Regions from separate parts of the Homo sapiens genome. Here regions 2 and 3 are each linked to region 1. Evidence: promoter capture Hi-C in 16 types of primary human blood cells and fetal thymus (Javierre and others, 2016). All regions are on one chromosome and are shown on one strand. The core of a region is centred on a gene start or on the middle of the fragment in contact, and the rest is flanking DNA. Distances in the headings are between cores, read along the strand shown. Region 1 holds the start of NOCT (nocturnin). Region 2 holds the start of C4orf33 (chromosome 4 open reading frame 33). Region 3 holds the start of ZNF827 (zinc finger protein 827).

Region 1 (3,496 bases), core at 510-3,009:
GCTTCTGAACCCCGTTGGGGGTGTGTAATCACTCTGTGATTCTCCCCATGTACATGTTAATAAATGCATATGCCTTTTCTCCCATTAATCTGCCTTTTGTGAGTTGATTTTTCAGCAAACTTCAGAGGGCAAAGGGAACATTTTTCCCATGGTCCCTATACCCATATATACCCACTACCTAGATTCAAAATCAACATTTTGCTATATTTGCAAAACACTTTTCATAGGCTAATTTTATTATCACCTTTTTAAAAAAATTCTTTTTACAAGTACTGCTCCTTGTGGAGCAGGACTACTCGATAGACAGTGTGCCCAGAGTAGCTTATTATCATTTTTTATTTCACCTAATGACTAAGGTATGATTCTATGTTTTATAGATAAGGAAACTGAAACTGAGGCTTTAATGACTTCCAAGGAGCTTGTCTGCCAGAAGTTGTAATCAACTTGTGCCAGCTGATCTGTCCACACCCTCTATCCACAGGTGTTAGATATGTAACCTAGGTCTGAAAAATATTTAGAATATTCTTGTGATGAAAAGCTTGCAATTCCACAACACAGGGGAATCAGCAAAATCATGGGAAAACCAATAGAATACATTTCTAACTCATGAATCATTCAGAGAAAAATCCAGTCTTGGGTTTTCCCTCCCCCTCATCCCATTTCTATTCCTGATTAGTCATCATTTCCTGCCCAGCCTGTCTGAGATGTTTCTTCCATCCTTTCTTTTCCAGTAACAGTAACCTGGTGCGGGTCTACAGTATCTGTTATCTCAGCTGATTTCCTTTCTGCCTTTTCATGAACCAGAGACATGTGATTTCCAATTAAAGCACAGCCCTGACCATGTCTTTGCTCAGCTTACAAAACGTCAACGGCTCGCAGCTATCCACCGAATTAAGCCTACTATAATCCCCTTCCTTCCACACTACAACCTATCCACGCATCTGTCCTCTTACTCCTTAGCTTCCATCTTACATGACTAAGAGTTGTTTCCCCAAATACACCCTTATTTACTTTTTTCATTTATAACTCACCACCACCCCCTCCAAAGTTTCACGTGGGTAAATTCTAGACCTCCACGTCATAGGCCAACTCAAATGCCAATCCTTCTAATGAACCTTCTAGAGAGCCCGGGCCTGTTGTCATCTCTATAGCCAATCTTTGGCATCTTGTGGCAATAATCTCATTCTACCTTGTAGAGCTTTCTGGTCTGACTTCCCTTGCCACCTTCTGCTCCCTTTGCCTAAGTATAACACTTTTGAGGAAAAGAACGCTGTTTTAATCATCGTCGCCTCGCCCACAGGCGGTGCTTTATTGTGCTTAATATCGTTTAACGCATCACACACTGCCGAGGGGGTCGGAGGCGGACGCCTTTTGCTGTATCCACACAGACCCGCGCAGGCACACACGTAGGCCGTCTGCCACTCTGACAGACACGTGTCCCCTGGGCCACAGCCCTGGAACTGTCTCGGGATTCCCAGCCTGTGGGCGCTTCCATGCTGGCCAGCGGAAGGGGACGCTTTTTTCTTCAGAACAGCTCCAACGGATACCTCTTATTTTAGACCGCCTGCGGATTCTATCTATAAATCAGCCTAAGCCCCGCTTCCTTTTAAAACAGGATTACGCCGGGTCGAGGGAGCCTGGCGTGGCCGCGCAGTGGCCGGGTCCCGCGGATTCCCCTCCAGCTCCCGCTTGGTAGCGCCCGCTTTGTCAGCGCGCAGCGCTCGCCGGGCGCCCTGCAGGTCTCGCCAGGTCTCACAGCAGACGGTGCCGACGCAGCGGTGTTGCACCTCCCTCTCCGGCTCTGCTGCCCGGGATTTCCCCAGAACCTGCGCCGCGCGAGAAGGAGCCTGGGAGCATCCGCCCACACTGCCCGGACAGTCGGCTCGACTCGGTGCCCTCGGCCCCAGCCGGGCTCCGCTCCTCGGGCGCGCGAGGGGCCGTGGTGGCGGCGGCGCCCGGCATGTTTCATAGTCCGCGGCGGCTCTGCTCGGCCCTGCTGCAGAGGGACGCGCCCGGCCTGCGCCGCCTGCCCGCCCCAGGGCTGCGCCGCCCGTTGTCCCCGCCGGCTGCTGTTCCCAGGCCCGCATCCCCCCGGCTGCTGGCGGCGGCCTCGGCGGCCTCGGGCGCCGCGAGGTCGTGTTCCCGAACAGGTGAGTGCACCCCAGTTCCGGGCGGAGAACGCCACGGCCGCCAACGCGCGGCCGCCACCTGGAGACCGCGCGGAATGAATGAGAAGCCCGGGGCTGCCGGTCGTGGAGTCTGGCCTGAAAGTGGGTCCTTTACCGGAGCAACCTTCTGCGTTCCCTTTTTCCTCTTTCCCTGTTCCCCGACTTGCCTGGGGCTTGCATCAAAGCTAGTAAGAACTGGGAGACTGTATTCAGGTTCCCGCTTGACCCTTAGAGGCCATGCTTTCAGAATTTCTTGTTCTTGACCGTTAAATTTCCCCCTTCCGAGGCCGCGAGTTACTATGTTGGTTACATTTTTTATTGCACGACTTAACGGAAATTTTTATGGAAAAAAAAATCTAAATGATGCTTATTTGCTTATATAGCTTTCATGGTCTAGATATTAAGTTTTTTTTTTAAGTCGTGATAATAACACATTGATTCGTTTTACGTTGTTTTTTTTTTTTTTTTTTTTTTTTTTTTTTGAGATGGAGTCTCACTGTGTCACCCAGGCTGGAGTCCAGTGGCACGATATCGGCTTACCGCAACCTCCCGCTCCCGGGTTCAAGCGATTCTCCTGCCTCAGCCTCCCGAGTAGCTGGGATTACAGGCGCCAGTCACCACGCCTAGCTAACTTTTGTATATTTAGTAGAGACGGGGGTTTCACCATTTTGGCCAGGCTGGTCTTGAACTCCTGACCTCGTGATCCACCCGCCTCAGCCTCCCAGAGTGCTGGGATCACAGGCGTGAGCCACCGCGCTCGGCCATTTTACGTTTCTTTGGATTTTTTTTTTTTGGAGGCTTCCACTCTTTATAGTTAACATCATTTTTTGTCCTGTGTATCTAAGATCTTGTAAAAGTGAGGCCTTAGTTTCACCAAGAGCTGTTTTCATACATCATAATAACTACCCTGAGTTTTCCTTTTTTGCTACCTCTGTTTCTGCCTGGGCACACATTACCATGGCCACAAATTACATACAAATTAATTATACTTTAAAAATTGATAAATTTTTTCTTTCAAAACTAGGCAATACATAACTTTTTTTTTTTTTTTTTTTGAGACGGAGTTTTGCTCTTATTTCCCAGGCTGGAGTGCAATGGCGCGATCTCGGCTCACCGCAACCTCTGCCTCCCGGGTTCAAGCGATTCTCCTGCCTCAACCTCCCGAGAAGCTGGGATTACAGGCATGCGCCACCGCGCCAGGCTGATTTTTGTATTTTTAGTAGAGATGGGGTTTCTCCATGTTGGTCAGGCTGGCCTCGAACTCCCTAGCTCAGGTGAACCTCCCGCTTTGGCCTCCCAAAGTGCTGGGATTACAGGCGTGAGCCACC
Region 2 (3,496 bases), core at 619-3,118, 9.9 Mb before region 1:
GAAGATTGCTGGGGACTCCACGTTCAACCGAATCCCACGCTGGTGGGAAGAGGACGCGGTCGATACAGGCGTCCCGCGGGTCACTCTGGGTCTCGTCGGGCCACCTAGGAGAGTGCCGCGGGAGCTTGACGGCAGCCTGAGAGCGGCGTTCTACGCGGAGCGGCGGGGGTTGGAGAGGACAACGCCAAGACGGCTGGGAAGCCCCAGGCCAGCAGCGGAAGTCCACTCGGCCCGCCCTGCGACTTTGAAACCGGTGCCCCGGACCACTCCTTGGAGACGGTGGCGCCTCTTGCGTCATCACGCGGGCGTTGGAGCTTACGCCATCGCGCGTCCTAGAGTCCTAGCACGCTATTGGCTGGCTGTCAAGCAATGGGAGGAGTCGTGAGAACCTGGATGACAGCGGGCTGAGCCACCGGCTTGGCGCGGCGGCCAAACTGGTGGGACAGTGTCTCCAGGTAGTGAGGCCCAACCTCTTTAAAACAAACAAACAAACAAACAAAAAACCAAAATGCAAACGTGAGTAGAGAATGAAATACACAGTTTAAATGCCCTCACTATCTTTGGGTTACTAATATACTAAGCCTTTCTGGACTAAGTAAAAGATGCAGGTTCCTGCGGCTAGGGATAGAAGCCAGACTGGCGTCTTCAGAATCTCCCACCAAGGCTGTACCTCTGGAGGAGTTCTAGGTTTGGATTTGGTCATCTCAAGAAGGTAAGTACCTTCTCGGTCTTTGTGGGTCTTTAGACAAAGGAGACAACTGTTGTTTAAATATTTAACTGTGTAGTAATAAAGCGTGTAGTTAGAAGTACTCAAAAGATCTTGCAAATTCAGCAGCTACTTCTTCAAAGATAAGCTTGTTTCCTCAAATATAAGGAAAGATAAAAGGTACTTTTTTTTGCAAAAAACAAAACGGTAAAACTTACATTTGTGGATAGATTACAATTTTCATTTTTGAAAATTAATTTTGTCTGGACTTAAAACGTATTTTTTTAAAAAAAATCATTTAACATTAGAGGAAATCTCACCACTAGCAACAAAAATGTTAACTTGAAGCTAGCCACTAGTTTTGTGCTTTTAATAAATTGTATTTTTATGGACTGAAGTAAAGTTTCACTAAACAGGCATGTCATAGATGCAGCTTGATTTGGCTTTCTGTTTAACGGCTTAAGAGTTTTGTTGTCCCGTACTCATAATGTCATATAAACAAAGTAACCTTAGCGATATGTGTTAAGAAATTTTAAAAATGTATTCAAATATATGCAGTTAGGCATCTGAAGGCCTTACTCAATACTCACTGTTAATAGAATGAGATGGTCCCTTCCTCTAAAGACTAGCTGTTAAATATGGATGTGTAGCTTAATAATCATTGAAAAGGTCTAATCCAGCTTTGAGTTGGTGATAATTGAACTTGTTCTGATTTTTAGTAGCTATAACGTTTACACAAAAACTTTTTGTATAAACGTTATAGCTAAGGGAAAATTGAGTGTGCAAGGTCCAACTCGTTTTTGAAGTTCAGTATATGACTCTTTCTTCATAAACATCTCACTGACTCTCCAAGGACTTGCTTGTAACTTCTCCCACATTTGAACCTTGTATATTGTCGTATTTCTACTTGGCATCAAATAAATAATTATAGACTTAACTCTACGCTTACACCCAAACTGGATGGAAGCAAATACCTTCTGGCTATAACTGATGAGTGGTATTTACATAAAGTGAATATCTCAGGTGAAAACTTTTATGTCTGCACTCGAATTTTTTAGCTTACATGATCATAATTATGATCATGATAGTTTTTTGTTTTTGCGTTTGTGTTTGTGGTTACAAGATTTTAGTAGTTGAATTTTAATGGAGTATTTTCAACATAAGTTTCATCATTAGGAAACAAAATTGTGATGATTTCACTTATCCTTAAAGGATCCCCTCTCATGTTCCTCCTTTTCACATCTCCTGAGTTCTTTATCCACTTCTCCCAAGGTAGGTGCCACCTTAGTACTTACTTCATGCTCCTTCCTGCATTATCTGTCATGTTTTGTAGTTTGTCTCCAGGCTCCATCATAATACCTGGAACACAGAGTTGATTAAATATCTGATGGAAGGAATGAAAGAATTCAGTGGATGTTCATGAAAAGTATCTATTAGTATAAATTGAATACAAGGAATGACAAGCAGAAATGTATGTAGTTTGTGTGTAACTCTTGTCAAGCCACCATTTAATGTTTTTATATGACTTTTCTGCAATAAAGAAAACCCCTAAAGTTGTATAGATTGAAAATTAGTGACATTTCACTAACATTCATTTGGTTGATCAATTGACATTGAGCACCCAGTACTATGTGCAAAGTACCAGGAAGAATACAAAGTTAGAAGTTTAAGCAAGGATCAGAACAGATCACACAGCTGGCAAGTGCCTGAGTTGAGATTTGAACCCAGGCAGTATGGTTCTAATTTCACAATTGTTAACTGCTATGAACATGCCTCCCCAGGAATATAGTATAATATAGTTTATAGCTGGTATAATATAATTTATAGTTTTTGCTTATATGGCCAGTTAGCCTTTAGTTGTATTAAATGAAATATTTCTGTACATGTTATATTGTAATCTTAATGATTTACAGTTGATTTTCAAATTATTGCACAGTATTTATATTTCTGAATCACCCTTCCTTCTTCTAGGAAACCACTCATACTTTAGTGGAACGATTAGAAGTCTTCAGTTGTTCATGTGTGGCCCTTCAACATCTTTCTTTCCTAGAAAAATCAAGCGTCTTAGCTTCAGTGTTCTAAGCCCCTCCCCCAGAACGTGTAGGCAGCTGGGTGGAGCCTAAAGCCGAGCCCTCTCCTGTGACCTCGGCTGAAAAGAAGAAGCCAGTGTTTGAGAAAAGCTTCGTGGTCTGTGTTCTCTAGTTGTTCCCTCTTCTCTCTGACATTCCTTTCGTCGTCGCCAGGTCTTGTTTTTCGCTTGATCTCTGGAAAATACTGAAAAGTATTTTACTTTTCAGCTGTCTCCTGCTAAGTGAGCGTACTCCCCCTTTCAGGCTGACTTCCTCATTTCTCCGTTTCCCTGATAAATGGGCGGGGCCTCGGGGAGGTATGGAAACTGAAAAGAAATCATTATTGTAGAAAAACTAAAGAAATTTTTGTTGAGCAGAGGAATTTGGAAATTTTCCTTGCAGATCATTTGGTTGAGAAAACACCTTTACCATAACTTATTTCTTTTAAACTTTGCGGACATTTTTTCTTTTCCTGGGTTCTTAATGCTCCAGTGTTCGGTCTCCTTTCTCTTCCTTCGTTTCCTTTTAGAGGTCTTTCCAGGTAAAGATAAAGCAATCAGAACAATTGAAAATTTATTTTTTTAACTTGTTTTAAGAGCAATTTGAAGAATAGAGGTTAAAAGTAGAAACATACAGAGTAACAATAAATATTGTATTAAGAAAGTCTAAACAGCCAAACTTAAAATTGCATTGCAGGACAGTAATCATCTTGATAATATGC
Region 3 (3,496 bases), core at 505-3,004, 6.9 Mb after region 1:
TAGTTGCTTCTTTCTCCTTCACTTTTAGCTTTAGCAGCATCTCGAAACACTCAAAGCGGAGAAAGACTGGGGGGTTGGGGGGAGCTGGAGAGGGAGTGGGGGAAAAGTTAAGAGTCGCGCAAAGAAAAGCCGGAGGGAGGGCGGAGAGGGACCGGGGGCGCGGGTGGAGGAGGGGAAGGGGACCGGGCCGTGCCGGCGGGTGTGTGTCTCCAGTTGGCGTGTGTGGCTGCCGCCGGGGAGGGCTGTGATGCACTTTAGTCCTGGACTCTGCTCAGGCTCGCCAAGGAGGGGGTCTGAGAGCCCGAGTCTCGCCCGGCTCCGTCTGCTCCGACTGACCCCGCATTTTATTGCGGCCAGGAGCCCTGCTCCTCCCTCTCCTCCGCTCTGCAGGGACCTCGCGCGCCGCGAGCCGCCCTGCCTCCTGCCTTCGCCTCGGCGCAGCTCCCGCACCCCACATCCGCCCGCCGCTGCCCGGCCTCGCCCCCCGCCCGGCCGCCCCGCGCCCCGGCGCGCCCCCTCGCCTCGGCGCCGCGGGAGCAGCCGCCCGGCGGCGCGTGTGTACCCGTGTGTTTGTGTGCGGTGCCCCTACACCCTCCCCAGCCGCTCCCGCCTCGCCCGCCCCCGACTCCCCTCCTCCGCCGCCGCCTCCTCCACCTCCGCCTCCTCCTGCTCCAGCCGCCGCCGCCGCTGCCGCCGGCGGCTCGGGGGCCGACCAACCCCGGCGCAACCTTTAGCCAGGGACGGACCTCTCCCTGGATCCTGTACCCGGCGGCTGCTGCGCGCCCTCTCCCCGACACCCCCAAACGCCATGTCACGGCCCCCAGCCCTCCGCGCGCCCCGACCCCCGCACCCTCAGGCGCCGGAATCCACAAGGAATTTTTTTTTTTTTAAGATTCCAACCTCTCCCACCTCCCCCCACCAAACCCCCGATAAAACCCCCGGCATCCACACTACTCCCCTCCTCCCTTCTCTTGCCCCCTCCCCCCAGCAACCCAGAGTGAGGAGGGGGAAGGGGAGGGAAAGGGAAAAAAAAGCCCGATCTCAAGGAAAAAAAGGGGGGGGGTGAGAGAAAGAAAGAAAAAGAGAGAGAGAATAGAAAGGGCACGGGGCTGATCATCACCAACATGGCTGCCTCAGCATAGACCTAAACGAGGAGTAACCCGGGCTGTGTCTTTGTCAGTTTCACCTCTGTAACCCTAAACTAATGCAGAAAACAACGGAGGAGGCTGCGGAGGGGAAAGAGGAGAGGGAGGGCGAGAAAATGGCACGAGAGGAGGTGGAGAAGGGATGACTTACGTGAGGGAAGGCGCTTGGGCTGCTCCTGCTTCCTCCTGGGCATTTTCCCCCTTTTCTCACATTCTCCTCCTTGGTTAATGTGAGATCAAATAAACCCCCGTGGGGGCAGAGAGGCAGACACTGGCAGGAGCGGGGAGGTAGTTGGGGGGCGGGCGGGCGGGCAGGGGGAAACCCCTTCTCCGGTGTGTGCAATGGGTTGAAGCTTGTTTCCTGGAGCCAGAAGAGGGGTTTTCTTCTTTTCTTTCCTTTCTTTTTTCCTTTTTTTTTTTTTTTTAAATTTTTGGTCGTGCACCTGGCTTGTCCCCGAGCGTAATATTCTTCAATGGAAACGGATCTAATAGGTGTGAGTGTGTGTGTGTCCTATGCTCGCGTGTGTGATGGGAGGTATAAATAAATGAGTGCCGGTGCGGCGGTGTCTATGGCCGCGCTCTGTGTCTCCGAGCCCCTAACACTAATGTCGGGATCAAAGGGCAGCGGCGGCGGCAGCACAGCTCACAGCTCGCTCTCTTGCTCTCTCTCTCTCTCTTTCTCGCTCTCTCTCCTCTCGCGCTCTCTCTCTCGCTCTCTCTCTGTCACACACACACACACACAAGAGGCACAGACTGAGGGAAAGAGCGAGAGCTACACACACACACACGCACGCACACACACACACAGAGCAAAGAGGAAAGTGCCCCAAGGCTCCCAGGGCGGACTCAGCCTCGGATTTACAACCGCTCTGTCTGGAAAGAATGGGGGGCGCGCGTGCGGGGGTGGGATGGAGTTCTTCAAATTTATCCCGCTAGTCACCAAATCTAGGGGGAAAAAGTTTTTCTCACTCTTTAAACAACGATTAGTTCATTATTTTACTGACTTTTAAAAAGGAAATAAATTTCTCTCTTCACTTTCTTTTGTTTATTAAGCTACATTTTGTTCTGTATGAAATTCTGCAGGCTTTTGTCCCTACCCCATCACCTTAAATCTGGAGGTTATCGTCTCCCACACACTCTTCAAAAACATTCCAAAAAAACTAATTTAAAAAAAATGAAGACAACATATGGTGAAATCAATAACTTGGTTGACAGTTGACAGAATAAGTGCCCAGTTTTGGAGTGTCCACTGGAGTTAAAACTGAAAAATGCTCCTAAATGAACATTACAGCTACTTGACAAAGAGAGGAAAATAAGATTAGGTCACCCCTGATGGTTGCTTTAACTGCTACGTGATACTCCTAGAGTGCACACAGCAATCTTTACTTCGGAAATTCACTTTTTCCCCTGCTATATACTGCAGGTATATGAAGTTTACCCTGAAGCAATTCCAGTGTGCATTATGAGCCCAATATAGCAGTTTTCATTAACTGATACATACTTTCATTACCTTACAAATCACACATCTTTCTTCAAAGAGAGACATAAAGGAGAAAAATAGAAAAGGACGGGTCTCACTAGAGCACAAAAGGTACTTGGTGAAAGAGGACTGTTCTCTTTGTGACTTGCAGTCATTTGGATAAAAGTTCACTCAGAGGTTGTTAATGATTTAAACTCCAAAACCTGCTACTATAATTGAAATAAAAATGGTCTGAAGAAGAGTTGTTTCATAAAACTCTCTTTGTAAGAGGAAACTTTGAACTTAGCAGAATACATTATATGTCATGAGTCATGTAGCTAGAAAATAAAAAGGTGCATTATTTAACTACATCTTCCCTTTTTAGCTTTTTTAAAACTCTGACTCATCATCTTATTATGTTAAATATTTTCCTACCAATTTTTAAATAGACCTTTTCATCAAAGAAAGTGGAGGCACAGTAAAGACATAGAACATTAAAATGACACTCTATAAGCCTACATGGATAACTCATGCCTCTTTGAGGTTGAGTTAATTCTTACAACTTCAGTGGTGTTAAAGAGAGCCATGGGGGTTAAATTCTGACTTGCCTTATTAAAAATAATAATAAGGCTTTATATTGCACACTTTTATAAGTGAAGCTTAAAGAGTGCTGTATCTCCCAAAAGATGTCTTTCACTGATAGAGAAATCTCACGTTCAACCCCTCCCTGCCAACTCCCCCCAAAAGATCTAGCTTCCCAGTAACAAGTAATGCTATTGAAAGCGAGGTTTGAAACACCTGCATGAATTCAATCTAAAACCAAAACAGAGAGCAGTCAAGTTTAAAATGGAGCACCCTGTAATCCCAGCACTTTGGGAGGCGGAAGTGGGCA

Evidence for each region. The method cuts DNA at HindIII sites, captures the fragments that hold promoters and counts their contacts. A CHiCAGO score of 5 or more calls a contact.
Region 2: a fragment that was not itself captured here is called in contact with the fragment with the promoter of NOCT in region 1 in 3 of 17 cell types (activated CD4 T cells, total B cells and total CD8 T cells); the score reaches 7.5 in activated CD4 T cells.
Region 3: the fragment with the promoter of ZNF827 here is called in contact with the fragment with the promoter of NOCT in region 1 in 2 of 17 cell types (non-activated CD4 T cells and activated CD4 T cells); the score reaches 10.0 in non-activated CD4 T cells.

Annotation. Positions count from the first base shown.
Region 1 is chr4:139,014,022-139,017,517 of GRCh38, forward strand. NOCT (nocturnin) reads left to right here and starts at 1,760. Exons shown (of 3, transcript NM_012118.4): 1 at 1,760-2,150. The coding sequence starts at 1,961. RefSeq lists enhancers at 120-1,319, 456-1,377, 1,410-1,759 and a silencer at 1,900-2,199. The HindIII fragment of the contact is 5,482 bases long and covers 537-3,496 here.
Region 2 is chr4:129,093,317-129,096,812 of GRCh38, forward strand. C4orf33 (chromosome 4 open reading frame 33) reads left to right here and starts at 2,836. Exons shown (of 6, transcript NM_001099783.2): 1 at 2,836-2,893. SCLT1 (sodium channel and clathrin linker 1) reads right to left here and starts at 223. Exons shown (of 21, transcript NM_144643.4): 1 at 1-223. RefSeq lists an enhancer at 1-487. The HindIII fragment of the contact is 2,032 bases long and covers 853-2,884 here.
Region 3 is chr4:145,937,069-145,940,564 of GRCh38, forward strand. ZNF827 (zinc finger protein 827) reads right to left here and starts at 1,755. Exons shown (of 15, transcript NM_001306215.2): 1 at 1,297-1,755. The coding sequence starts at 1,339. RefSeq lists silencers at 98-507, 628-697 and an enhancer at 1,072-1,131. The HindIII fragment of the contact is 1,765 bases long and covers 1,497-3,261 here.